3 separate regions of the Homo sapiens genome follow, and regions 2 and 3 are each linked to region 1. Evidence: promoter capture Hi-C in human tissues and cell types (Jung and others, 2019). All regions are on one chromosome and are shown on one strand. The core of a region is centred on a gene start or on the middle of the fragment in contact, and the rest is flanking DNA. Distances in the headings are between cores, read along the strand shown. Region 1 holds the start of HECW2 (HECT, C2 and WW domain containing E3 ubiquitin protein ligase 2). Region 2 overlaps HECW2 (HECT, C2 and WW domain containing E3 ubiquitin protein ligase 2). Region 3 holds the start of LOC105373821 (a long non-coding RNA gene).

What was found. Contacts are between HindIII fragments. The study calls those that stand out against the background at their distance.
Region 2: a fragment that was not itself captured here is called in contact with the fragment with the promoter of HECW2 in region 1 in 1 of the 25 tissues and cell types used here (dorsolateral prefrontal cortex).
Region 3: a contact is called between a fragment that was not itself captured here and the fragment with the promoter of HECW2 in region 1, in 1 of the 25 tissues and cell types used here (bladder).

The regions. Positions count from the first base shown.
Region 1 is chr2:196,591,470-196,596,240 of GRCh38, forward strand. It overlaps HECW2 (HECT, C2 and WW domain containing E3 ubiquitin protein ligase 2), which reads right to left and starts at 2,085. Exons shown (of 29, transcript NM_001348768.2): 1 at 2,039-2,085. RefSeq lists silencers at 1,314-1,693, 1,774-2,043. The HindIII fragment of the contact is 8,801 bases long and covers 1-4,771 here.
Region 2 is chr2:196,420,956-196,425,726 of GRCh38, forward strand. The region is part of intron 2 of HECW2 (HECT, C2 and WW domain containing E3 ubiquitin protein ligase 2); the gene reads right to left. Among named protein-coding and RNA genes, the nearest start is that of HECW2-AS1, 160 kb to the left of the region's middle. The HindIII fragment of the contact is 4,313 bases long and covers 630-4,771 here.
Region 3 is chr2:196,456,952-196,461,722 of GRCh38, forward strand. The region is part of intron 1 of HECW2 (HECT, C2 and WW domain containing E3 ubiquitin protein ligase 2); the gene reads right to left. LOC105373821 (a long non-coding RNA gene) reads left to right here and starts at 310. Exons shown (of 5, transcript XR_007087827.1): 1 at 310-396. The HindIII fragment of the contact is 4,797 bases long and covers 1-4,623 here.

The DNA.
Region 1 (4,771 bases), core at 835-3,334:
CACAACCACATCGAAGCCAAAATGTGCCAATGAAATAATCAAAACAAATAGCTCAATTGGGACTTTTTGAATGTTCAACAAAAAGAAAAATTAAAGCTGGTTAGACTGCTGGATAGTAACGTTACAGTGTCTCCTTTAAGAGATCAAAATGTCTTTGCCACCCTCCACCCCACCCTACCCCACCTCTAATAGTGAAGTGGATAATTTCTGAAGAATACAATGACCCTTTATGCCTGGCTTCTCTAGTCTGCTAGGGATGCCATCTGTCTCCCACGCTATATAAACAATCCCCGCAGGAATCTTCTGATGACCAAACAGATTAGCAAACTCCAGATTTTCACGCCATTAATAATATCCCCATCCAGATTAGGCCTTTTATTTTAATAACTCCAAAGATAAAGTCAATAACTGATCTTTCTTTCTTTGTAGATAATGTGTGTGTCATTTTAAAGATAACCTCTTGGAACATACAGCCATCTGTTGGGAAGAGAAAGAAAAAAAGCTCTCTCAAAGCAACAGAAGAAATGAACCCTCGAGGGAATAGGAGAAATAGTAAAAAGAAAATCATATTTATAAGACAAACACATGGAGAGCTCTACTAATTACACTAAAATATTCTTCTTCTAAATGACAAACTATAGAACACTACTCCAGAAAAGACAAGTTTCACACTTTCACAAAGGTATATATATACGAAAACAGTTTGCGTGAGTCTAGGACAGTGAAAGCAGAAATCATAACCCAAAAGCTAAAGGCCCCCGAAGTTTGCATGCTGTCCACCTCTATCTGTAATGATCACAAATGTTTTCCTTCCTGAAGTTTAATATCGATTGAACCCTTGTAACTCTAATTGTGAGCTCTCTGTACTGACTCCAAAGACTTCTAACTCTAAAAGAAATGTGCCTGTAAAGATGTTCTCTAAATTAATAATAATAAACGACGAAAAGCACCCGAGCGCTGCTAATAGTGAAGACAAGGCATGAGAGAGTCAGACCTCTGCAGTCTCGCGTCCTCGGAAACGTCTACGTCTAAATCTGCAGCCCCAGTTTGCTCCAGGCCCCAAGCTCCAGCAGAGGATGTTCACGGCACATTCCCAACCAAAAAGGAAATGAAGCGTCCTCTCCCTCAACTGATGCTCAAATAGACCCCAAAGTCCCAGTTTCCCTGGAGAACCAAACCATCCAACACATCCTGGGCAGCGGAAACCGAAATGGCAAATGAATGACCGCGCCGGGGCGCAAGGGAGGAAAAACAAAGCCACCTCCCGCCGTCCGCTACCTGCGGCGAGGGCCGCGCGCTCACCTGGGCTTTGCGCCCGTCGCCACAAGCTGCGGGTGGGGACCCGGCCGCGGGGCGGGAGGGCGCCCCCAAAGTCGCCCGGACCCGCGGCCCCGGCGCCCTGCGGCCGGTCCGTGCGCGCCGAGGAGAAAGCAGGCGGCCGGGGGCGCCGCCGCGCGTTGCATGCAGCTCACGGCTGCTGCGGCCGCTGCCACGGAGCCGAGAGTCTCTGCGCTGCAGTCCCCGACCCCGAGACCGCGAGAAGCGCCCGGAGAGACGCGGCGCAGGGGCAGAGCGCGCTCGGCGCGCCCCTCAGCGGCTCTTCCCGCCGCCCTCCGCAGCGGGCTGGGTCTCGGCTCGCCTTTGTGCTGGCATCTTCCTAGCTCCCAGCGACACCCAGAGCTCTCGAGGCGGCTCCGCGCCGCCACCCACCCCCGGGTTACGCCACGGCCCCCGCGCGACCCGCCGATTGTGTCGAGTCAGCAGCGGCAGCGGGGACGCGCGAAGCCATGGCTCCCGCCCGCGCTCGGGAGGGCGCCGGGGGTCCTGCGCCTCCGGGAGGTTTGTGGCCGAGCGCGGCGCGGCCCCGAGCGGCCCCGCAGCGCCCGGCTCCCCGCCGCTCGCTCTCCAGGCGCCGACCCGCCTGCGTCGCCACCCTCTCGCCGCTCCCTGCCGCCACCTTCCTCCCGCCCGGGTGCCGGGCGTCCGCTCCAGCCGCGGTGCCCCGGTCCGCGGAGAGCGAAGAGTCCGGCCTCCTCACCTCCAGCCGCGCCGGCGCCCTTCCCGCTAGACGCTTCGGCGGCATCTGCCCGCACCGCCCTGCGGGACGCTGGGCTGGGAGCTGGCGGCACGTCGGGGACCGGTGGAAGGGAGGCGGGGGCAGAGGACAGGAGGGACAGCCAGACCTTGGCCAGCGGGACCTCCCTGAGGAAGGTGCGGAAGAACGGGGCGGGTGCGGCTGGGCGGAGGACGAGTCCCGAGGCTGCGGCGGAGCCTGAGTTGCTCTCCTTCTGCGAAGTCGAAGGACAGGAGGATTCCTAGAGGTGTCGCGGAGGGTGGAGGAGACCCTCTGAGGTCGTGCAGACAACACTGTTCCTCAACCCCACCAGAAAGCTGAATAGGGGAGTGTCATGCCTCGGTTTCCCCAACTGCAAGGGCAAGACGGTAATACTCATGTCGCACACACAGGGTGTGGTCACGATGAAAAAATGGATTATTGAAAGCGTTCCCAGATACTTTGCCTAAAGAGGGCACTAAAATTTAAAATTACTGTATTAATACTTTCGGCTTTCTGTTTACTTCTATAGCATCTTCATCAACCAGTCCCACGTAGGAGAAAAAGTAAAAATGCTAAAGTGTAAATATATTGTGTCCCTCCCCACCCACCCTTGCATCTGTCCAGATTTAGGGAAGATTTATTCAATTTTACAATTTAACTATATCCATATGGAGTAAGTCCCCAAATAATGGATAGCCATTCCTTTGGGACTTTTGAGTGTGTGCTCAATATTATCCATTTCTCCGCCTTTTCTGGTAACAGCAGTTCATTATTCCTATGGGAACTGCCCTTCCCCCTCACCCACAATGAGTCTTTGTGGCTCCAGGGTACTGACACCTCCCACCCTCAACCCCCAGAACTAGCCAGTCATCTTCCGGACCGCAGTGATCGGTTCTGGGTTGGGCATGTTGATCCAGGAACTCGGCCTAGGGCTTTGGATGTATTACTGCAGAAAAATAAGCTCTTTAAACTAGGATAACTAAATTGGAAGGATATAAGCCTACGGTAACAAGGACCAACAGTGCATGCCAATGAAGCCAACTTTGAGGGAAGAAAAGCTGCTGGTGAGAGGGTGATGTCCCACCCTCTCAGGAACCTCAGGAGGTAGATGTGTCTGCAGTGAACTCTACCCTTGAAGCCAATAAATCCTCTCTCTTTTATTTCAAGTCAGTGTCAGCTGTGTTTTGTCACATGTCTCAGAGGAGCCCTGACTTCTTAGTCCCCTGGATCTATCAGCCCAGGCATCACTGTTAGGATCCTCCACAGAATCAAAGAGCCCCACCCCACAAAAGGCCCAATTCCAGTTCTTGCTGGAAGAACAGGGATCCTAGAGGTTTGTTCCCACATGATGTTCTCCTTCACAACTTACTCAAATCCAGCAACCCCACACCTGCAATCCTTAGCTTCTTTGTGTTGATTAACCACTATGTTACATTCTAGTCAAAATGGGCCAGGTGCAGTGGCTCACACCTGTAATCATGCCTGAGGCAGGAGGATCTCTTGAAGCCAGGAGTTTAAGACCAATCTGGGCAACATAGTGAGACCCCACTAACACAGGAACAGAAAACCAAACACTGCGTTTTCTCACTCATAAGTGGGAGCTGAACAATGAGAACACATGAACACAGGGAGGAGAACATCACATCAGGGAGGAGGGGCCTATCGGGGGTTGTGGGGCTAGGGGAGGGATCTCATTAGGAGAAATACCTAATGTAGATGATGGGTTGATGGGTGCAGCAAACCACCATGGCACGTGTATACCTATGTAACAAACCTCCACGTTCTGCACATATATCCCAGAACTTAAAGTATAATACATTAAATAAAGAAAGAAATAAAAATAAAAATAGCCAGGCATGGTGGCCTGAACCTGTAATCGCAGTTACTCTGGAGGCTGAGGCAGGAAGATCAGTTGAGCCCAGGATTTCAAGACTGCAATGAGCTGTGATTGCACCACTGCACTCCAGCTTGAAGACAGAGCAAGACCCTGTCACCTTGTCAAAAAAGAAGAGGAAGAGGAAGAAGAAGGAGGAGGAGGAGGAAAAAGAAAGAAAGAAAAGAAAAACAGAAAAAGAAAGAAAAGAAAAGAGGAGGAAGGGAGGAAGGGAGGAAAGGAGGGAGAAAGAAGAACCCTAAAAATGAATAGAGGCAAAGTGAATCACTATTGCTGCCCTAGGTCTTAAAAAACATTTTTCTCTCACTTTAAAAGCAGCCCCTACTACCTTTAAAACTTTCTACATATCGACCATTAAAACCGAGACTAAGGCATCAAAGAACATTAATAGCAAAGTCATCCTAAAAATCTCAAACTTGCAAAGGTGTGTAAAGATTAGGTAGGTTCTTTCACACTGCACTCCCCGTTCGTCATCACCACCACTCTCCTTCACAAGATCTCTGACCGGGTCTCACTTATCCTCTCCTGGAGCCATTCCCTTAAAGAGAACTCAGTACTTTACAAGCTGGTCAATTCTGCATTGAAACTGGCCTGACATTAGGAAGTGATCCCTTATATTGAGTTGAAATATTTCTTCCACCTGAGAGTACTCCAAGCACTGAAGACAAACTTGTGAACCACTTGAATTGTCTCTTTTCCAAGATCTTTGCATGACCCATAAGTCATGCAGGACACATGGCAATGTGTCCTGACCCTTCATCATCCTAGGTTACTTCCTTTCTACAGATGTGCCAAGGTTTGTGACTGCTCCTTCTAAAGCA
Region 2 (4,771 bases), core at 1,536-4,035, 170 kb before region 1:
AGATCCTAAGATTCTTGTACAGTTTGAGGCACTGAAAGATCCCAATTCATTATATGCTAACTCAATTACATATGTCAAAAATTGAAAGGATAAACTTTTAAGAGAATAGACTAGAATGTTTAAATTCCAAGCAAATATGCTCAGGAAGAATGTGAGATGTGGGAGTAAAAACAACTCATCATTTCCATTGAGGGTATAAAAATAGGGGGAAAAAACTAAGAAAAAGCATGATATGCAGAAAATAAATAAGATGTTGTAAAAAGTCCAAACATATCAAAAGTAAAAGCAGATGTAAAAAACTCTACATGTACCAATTTTAAAAGATGCTCACTTAAATTAGATTAAAAATCATAAAGCTTTACATGATTTACAGCAGATAAATCTAGAGCATGCCAAAGAATGGCTGAAAGTAAATTGATGGGAAAAGATACACTAAGCAAAAACTAACTGAAAGGAAGTTGATGTGACAACTGATAACAGACAAAACAGACTTTAAGAAATATAGCAGGATAAAATAATTGCATTATAAGTAACTTTATAGGTGTGTCCACTATTTAGTCCTTAAGAAAGTATAAAAAGCTAATTATAACAAACACGATAAAATCAGTATGTATAGTAAGGAATTATTTTGTGGGTTAGTAATGGTTGCAATCAGAACAAAGAATTTCTAAACCGCATGCAAAAGCTATCTTAATTCAATCACAAAATATTTACAATTATTTAACATTTACTAATTTTGGCTATATGAGTCTCCTTTAAGGAAAAGTGACACAAATAAGCATGGGGGGCAATAAAAATACAATAAGGGTAATGTTTCTAGAATCATCTCAATCTATGGAGAGAAGAATGCCTGTATCAAGTATCGCTTGCAGTCAATATGTTAAAGCATAAAATACACTAAAGCTTCTTTGGCTACACCAACCTATGCAATTTTCGAAAACCCATCTAATATCCAGGGGAGTCTTTCATAACCATTTTGAACATGTGGACTCCTCTGTGGACCAAATCTTCCACACGCATATTAAAAGGAAGATCCGTGATAGTCTGAGATACCAAGGTGATCCTGTGAATTCAGATTCCACTAAGCTATTTTTCATCTATAATGGTCATGCACTGTCCTTGGTACTGCCCTGGGTATGCCTGCTCATTCAGTCTCTGAACACCTTGCAAAGTGTATTCCAAAGTATGAGACTTTCTAACCCCTAGTATCTATTCTTGCAGTGACCATACAAGGATGCCTTAAGCTTTGAAACAGACTGGAGGACCAGACACATTGTTAGCAAGACATTCTACTATGGGAGAGACACTGATTGCTCACTGAATAGCCAAAGGCTTCTATGCATTTCCCAGTCCCCTTGCAGTTAGACAAAATTTTGCTACCAATGCTGAACAATGAGCTCTGAGCCGAAGTGAAATGTGTGGCTTTGGTGTCTAAGTATTTAAGAGCTAGCATAAGAGTTTCCAGCTCTCTCTTCCCCTGACACTTGCCCAAAGAGGTCATGTGTCCAGATGGCATAATGATAAAATGGTTGAGCCTTTAATAATCTAATATGGAAAAAATAAAGAAGGTGATGAGCCTGAGTCCCTAAGTGACAGTATGAATCAAGCCCCCTGCCAACCCACACGAGACATGCAGCATTAGCAATAAATAATCCTTTGTTCTGTTAAGCCCTGAGGATTTAGGGTTAGTAAATTATTGCAGCATAATCTGACTAGGTGAAAAGAATTTAGAGTTAAGTTGTTCCAAAAAACAATTACATGTTCAAAGCTCTTACTTTCTAAGAGCATTTTAAAATTTTAAAAATATGACCTAAAACAACTTTTCTTCACCAGGAATCATGATAAAATATCAAAAGAACTTAGGATCGGGCACTCTTAACTATATTTGATAGCTATTCTGAAGATGAAAAACCTAATGCATTATTTGTTCCATTTGATTGAATTTCAGATTAAATTGTGGATTTCCCATCACCTTGTAAAGCATGTTGATTTAGAACCTAAATAATACTCAAATTAAAATACTGTATTATTTAGCATTCACATTTTAAGTGCTTATATAATTTCTAGAGCTCTGCTTCAAATAAATGAATTTTGTTTTCCTTAGGTAGAAGTGGCCCATTGTGTCACTTTAAACTGGAAATCCCTTCTTGGGAATTCATTCAGTGGGTAAGTTTGAGCTGCAGCTTCAGGCTACCAGTAAAATGATTTTATTATTATTAATAATTACCAAAATATTAATGATAGTTTATAATAATAACCTTACAATCTGCCCAAGCACTGTGCCGAGCATTTTATATGCAATATCTCATTTAATTCTCATAATATTGGTGGTTTAAGTCATTTTTTTAAAAATGGAGAAATTCAGGTTTAAAAAGTTAAATTATCTGCCCATGGTCATTCAGCTAGTCATTCACTGAATTTACTAATGTGTCTAACTATAGCGCCTGTGATCTCAACAATTGATAACGTCAGAGCTTCTCAAAGTGTGCTGCTGTGACGGTCCTGGGTAGTTCATTGACAAAAGTTATTCCTTAACAGTTAATGCATGTCAGAAAGAAATATACCTAACAACGCAAACCTTTCTCTAACACTATTGCTTAGAACATTGTCAGGGTAGAGAGCATGTTTTGTTTTAATCAAATGAGTTATTTCACTTCACCTCCAGGTTCATCTATGTTGTCACAAATGAGAGGGTTTCCTTCTTTTTTAATGAATGTATAGTATTCCATTGTGTGTGTGTGTGTGTGTGTGTGTGTGTGTTTATCACATTTTTCTTATCCATTCATCCACTGATGGACACTTAGGTTGACTGCATATCTTGGCTATTATAAATAGTGCTGCAATAAACATGGGAATCCAGATATCTCTTCTGTATGCTGACTTCATTTCCTTTGGATATGTATACCCATAAGTGGGATTGCTGGGTCATATAGTATTTATATTTTTAATTTTTTGAGAAGCCTACATAGAAAACTCTTTTTATGATGCTTTGCTTTATTGCACTTCACAGATAATGTGTTTTTTTTACAAATAGAAGGTGTGTGGAAACCCCACATTGAGCAAGTCTGTTGGTGCCATTTCTTTTCCAACAGCATATGCTCACTTCATGTCTCTGTGTCACATTTTGCTATTTATTGCAATATTTCAAGCTTTTTCATTATTATTATGCCTGTCGTGATGATCTCTGATCAGTGGTCTTTTGATGATATTATTGTAATTGTTTTGAGGCACCATGAACTGTGCCCAAGACTATAAACTTAATCAATGAATATTGTGTGTGTTCTGACTGTTCCACTGACCCAACGATCCTCTTTCTCCCTCTCTTCAGCTGTCCTAACTCCTGAGACACAACAATATTGAAATTAGGCCAATTAATAACCCTACAATGGCCTCTAAGTATTTAAATGAAAGGAAAAGTCACACATCTCTCACTTTAAATCAAAAGTTAAAAGTGATTAAACTTAGAGAGGAAGGCATCTCAAAAATTGAGACAGGCCAAAAGCTAGGCCTCTTGCTTCGAACAGTTAGCCAAGTTGTAAAAGCAAAGGAAACGTTCTTGAAGGAAATTTAAAATGCTATTCCAAAGTACATACGAATGATAAGAAAGTGAAACAGCCTTATTATTGATATGGAGAAAATTATAGGAGTCTGGAGAGAAGATCAAAATAGTCAAAATATTCTCTTAAACCAAGCCTAATCCAGAGCAAGACCCTAACCCTATTCAATTCTATGAAGGCTGAGAGAGGTAAGGAAGCTGCAGAAGAAAAGCTGGAAGCTAGGAAAGGTTGATTCATAAGTTTAAGGAAAGAAGCCATCTCTATAGCATAAAAGTACAAAGTAAAACAGCAAGTGTTGATGTAGAAGTTGCAGTAAGTTATCCAGAAGATCTAGCTAAGATCATTGATTAAGGTGGCTACACTAAACAAATGATTTTCAATGTGGGCAAAACAGCCTTCTATTGGAAGAAGATGCCATCTAGGACTTCCATAGCTAGAGGAGATGTCAATGTCTGGCTTTAAAGCTTAAAGAACAGATTGACTCTCTTGTTAGGGGCTCATACAGCTGGTGACTTTAAGTTGAAGCCAATGCTCATTTACCATTCCAGAAATCCTAGAGCCCTTAAGAATTATACTAAAGCCACTCTGTTGGCACTCTAGAAATGGAACAACAAAGCCAAAATGACAGCACATCTGTCATTTAGATTTACTGAATATTTTTACGGAATATTTTGCTGAATATTTTAAGGCCACTATTGAGACATACTGCTTGGAAAAAAAAAAAAAAACTGCGACAAGTCACCTAAGAGGTCTGATGAAGATTTACAAGGAAATTAATGTTGTTTTCATGCCTGCTAACACAACACTCATTCTGTAGCCCATGGGCCAAGGAGTAATTTTGAATTTCAAGTCTTATTATTTAAGCAATACATTTCTTAAGGCTATAGCTGCCATAGATAGGAATTTCTCTGATGAATCTGGGCAAAGTAAATTAAAAACCTTCTGGAAGGGATTCACCATTCTAGATGCCATTCACAATTCATGGGGTAGACTAAAATATCACCATTGACAGGAGTCTGGAAGAAGTTGATTCCAACCCTCATGGATGACTTTGAAGGGTTCAAGACTTCAGTGATGGAAGTCACTGTAAATGTGGTAGAAATAGCAAGAGAACTAGAATTAGAAGTGGTGCCTGAAGATGTAACTGAGTTGCTCCAATCTTATGATAAAACTTGAATGGATAAGGAGTTCCTTCTTATGGGTGAGTAAAGAAA
Region 3 (4,771 bases), core at 975-3,474, 130 kb before region 1:
AAAGACTATCAAATAAGTTTATTGCTTCATATATATCTATTCCTGGTATTCATATTCCTGTACCAAGCTTCAAGCAAAGAAGGAGCATCCAAATTAAGCCTAAGAAATAGAAAGTATCTGGAAAGAATCAACAGTGCCTAATGAGTAGGTACGGCATGGAATCAAGATATGAAATTCTATATGTTGAGCTGCTGATACGTTTTGGAGAGATACTACACATATGTCTCTGCTCTGATGTCATAAAGCTTTGATCACATCAAGTTTCAATGGCTTACAACTGCTTCACTTTTACACAGAATTTTTGAACTAAAAGGGCCCTCAGAGAGAATCTCGCCTGATCCATTCATTTTGAATAATACAAACTGACTTTCTTCATTCTGGACGACTTTTTCCAAGGTTGTAAGTACCAGAGCTGGAATTAGGATGTAGATTTCTTAACTACCTGCCCACTACATGGTACTGTCACCTCTTAACTATACTCCAAGCATGTTGTTCAATATTTTAGCATATGAAAGATCTTTTGAAAAGCTGTTTAAAAAATTACTTTTTAAGAATGTGTGAGTTTCTCAAATACACAATACTTTCCTCAAACTGGGTCAGAAAATCCAGAAATAATATAAATTGATTATCTCAGCCTATTCACAGTACTGTGCTATTCCTTACTACTACTGTGACCTTATGTAAGTCAACCACACTGGTCCTTTATATTCCCGACCCTAAAAATGAAGGAGCGGGACTATATGATTTCCAAGATACCTCTTAGCTCTACAAATTTTGTAAGTCTGTGATTCATTTAAAAATAAGTATAACCAGGTCTTTCACTTCTATTCTTCTTTTTCTCAGAGCATACTCATACCCGCTACTACACAAAACCTGAAAAGCATTATATACACAAGCACGCTATACTTAGGAAGTATGTCCAAATATGCCAAAGTATTTATCAATAAAGCATTATGGTATTTGATCTAAACAAATAATCAAAAGGGATAATAGCCACAATTCTTAAAAGTCACCATACTCTACAATACTGGGAACTGGCTGGACACAGTGGCTCACATCTGTAATCCCAACACTTTGGGAGGCTGAGGTGGGAGAACTGCTTGAGCCCAGGAGTTCGAGACCAGCCTGGGTAACATAGTGAGACCCCATCTCTACAAAAAATTAAAAAATTAGCTGGGTGTGGCAGCACATGCCTATTGTCTCAGCTACTTAGGAGGCTGAGGCAGGAGGATCACTTGAGCCCAGGAGGTCAAGGCTGCAGTGAGCCATGATTGTGCCACTGCACTCCATCCCTAAGTGACAGAGCAAAACCCTGTCTCTAAGAATTATTAAAAAAGTAAAATATTGGGAACTATCTCTTTCCTGTGCACTCTACCAATTCTATTAAATTCTACACCTGAAATATCCAGGCTCTGAAAAGGAAAGGTCTCATAATGCTGGGAGTCTCTGGATCTTAACTGTTTCTCTCTCTCCCTCTCACTCACTCACACACACACACACACACACACATACACACACCCCAAGGGGATGAAAATATGTGACTTCGCATTACTAGTACTGAGGCAAATCATACAAGACTCTAAAAAGCTCCAGATGGAAAACTGTGAAACCAGATGATAAAGATGACAAGTGTAGGCTGGGCGTGGTGGCTCACACCTGTAATCCCAGCACTTTGGGAGCCCGAGGCGGGTGGATCACGAGGTCAAGAGATCGAGACCATCATGGCCAACATGGTGAAACCCCGTCTCTACTAAAAATACAAAAATTAGCTGGGCGTGGTGGTGTGCACCTGTAGTTCCAGCTACTCAGCAGGCTGAGGCAGGAGAATGACTTGAACCCAGGAGGAGGAGGTTGCAGTGAGCCGAGATTGCACTACTACACTCCAGCCTGGCAAGAGAGTAAGACTCTGTCTCAACAACAACAACAACAAAAAAGATAAGTGTAAACACACTGGCTAAAACTCATATGTTCACATGACTAATTAACTACTAGTTGTTTATTAAGGATTTATTATATGTCCAGTTCCATGTTAGGTACTGCAGGATTTACAGAATAAGGAATGATTTGGTCCATGTTCTCTAGTAGTTCTCTGAGTAGTCCAGCTGGGAGAGATAATGCTAAAAAAACAAACAAACAAATCAGCACAAGAAACACCACAAGACTATACGTATAATTAAATGTTAAATTCTGCACATAAGTGATGGAGAAATTTCCAGAAAAGGAGTACCACTTCGGATCAGATTAGACAGGGAAGGCATCTTTGAGGCAGTAACACTGAGCTGAGTCTTAAAGCTTGAGAAGACTTAGCTGAAGAGAGATGGGAGATGTAGACTATGAGAAATACAGAAGTGGGCTTAGAAACTCCAATGAGCCTTAGCATGAGGAGAAGAAAACAGTTAAAGGGGGGAAAAGTACAGGTTAGAGTATTTGAGTATAAAGGAGAGTACTGGAGAGTGGTTTAAAAATTAGGTTGTATAGATACAGTAAAAAATAAAGATGAAATCCTAAGCCCCCCCAACCTACTGAACAGACCCCCTGTTAGCCAAGGGGACCCCAGAAATCCTTGAAAACTCAGTTCCCAACCATGACCAGACAGGAGGTCAGACGTGCCTCATGATGTCCCCTCCCTCCATAACCAACATTAGGATTTCCTCCGTAAGGATTAAACAGAAACCAGCCCTTTGGAAAGCCCCACTCCACCCCTGATGTCAATCAACCTCCTGAAACCGCCCCTCCTTTTTGTGGTTTTCAACAAAATAACCAACCAGCATTCCTTCTTGATAAGAGACCACAGACCACAGAGTGGTTCTGGCCAGTCCACGGAGGATGTGCAGGGAGGGGTTTTGCATCCTCTGCTTCATCTTTTGAAGTCAGAGATCCGAAAATTCCACCCTGGATCATGCTAATGCCGCCATAGTTAAAAACCATGGGTCCCCTGGTGAAGGATGAGGCTCAGCTGTGCATGCGCATGTTTCTCCCTTCCTAAATACACATGACTCCTCCTATTGCTTACAGAACACGAATATTCCTCCACCTCCTTCAGTGTGAATCCCTGTCTTATTCTTCTCACCCTCCAATTGTTTGTTTCTGGTCTCCAATGGAAGGCTATGCTTCCCAGTCTGTCAGAATGGCTACCCTGCAGGCTGCAACCCTTTATGAAAAATAAAGCTCTCCTTTCCAAATTTATGAACCTCATCATTCTTCAGCTGACAATGAGGCTGGAATTAAAAAATCTAGAAAACCAAGGAGTCAGACTTGATGCATTAGAGCCACTAACAGTTTATGGGGATGGGCATAATTAAAAGACTCTAAGAAATATCAAGTAAGACTTTTGATTGAAGTTAACAGAAGAGAGGCATTTTTATTCGACTTTCCTCCTAAAGACAACCAAAATAAAAAGAACTCAAAAAAGAACAGACTCAATATTCACCCTAATTAGAAGGCCATCTCATCTACAAGCCATGAGGAATAATTTCCAATGAAGTAAAAATTGAACCAAATTGAATGAGGATACAAAAACAAAACCGATTAAACCTTTTTTTTTTTTTTTGCATGTATTCATTTAGCTTTTTCTTTTAAAGAGCAGAGAACATATAATTTCTGTCTAATTTTTTGCTTTTCTCCCAGGGCAGGGAAAAATCTCAATTGTTTTTTGTCTTGTTTTGTTTTTGTTTGTGAGACAGGGTCTTGGTCTGTCACCCAGGCTGGAGTACAGTGGTGCCATAACTGGCTCACTGCAGCCTTAACCTCCTGGGCTCAAATGATCCTCCCACCTCAGCCTCCCAAGTAACTGGGACTACAAGCATGCATCACCACACCTGGCAATTTTTTTTTTTTTTTTTTTTTTTTTTTTTGGAGAGATAGGCTCTCACTATGTTGCCCAGGCTGGTATCAAACTTCTGGCCTCAAGTGATCCTCCTACCTCGGACTCCCAAAGTACTAGGATTACAGGTGTGAGCCACCATCTCCAGCCTAATAAAGAGACTCCTAAATGGAGACACAGCACAGCACAGGATCAAATTAATTACGTGAGAAAATATTCTGAGATAAAATGCCTGAATTAATGATGATGTTGGCCCAACTCACTCTCTGTCTCCTCCCCATTCAATTCTTGAGTAAACAGTTGTAATAGATAAAATGGCCTTCAGTTGAAGATGGGTAATAACAAAAAGAAAGCATACATGGATAAGTGCACAGCCTGATAGGAAGGAAGAAAGGGAGGGAGGGAGAAAGAAAGGCAGGCAGGCAGGCAAGAAGCAACAGAGATTAAAAACATGTCAGAAGAATTACATTACAAACCAAAGTCTGGCATGAAGACAATGAACAAGGAACTACTGAAAAACCACAATAAGATACTATACTACTACACACCCATTACTAGGATGACCAAAATTTAAGACAGCCAATACTGAATGCTCACAAGGGTAGAGAACAACTGTAAATGTCATACATTGCTGATCAGAGTACAAAATGGCACAAACACTTTGGAAAACCATTTTCATACACACACCATGCCATTCGGCTTTTCCACTCCTAATTATTTACTCCAGAGAAATGAAAACATATCCACACAAAGACTTATTGTATTAGTCCATTTTTACACTGCTATCAAGAACTGCCCAAGACTGGGTAATTTATAAAGGAAAGAGGTTTAATTGACTCACAGTTCAGTATGGCGGGGGAGGCCTCAGGAAACTTACATTCATGGCAGAAGGTTAAAGGGAAGCAAGGCACCTTCTTCACAAGGTGGCAGGAGGGAAAATGAATGCAG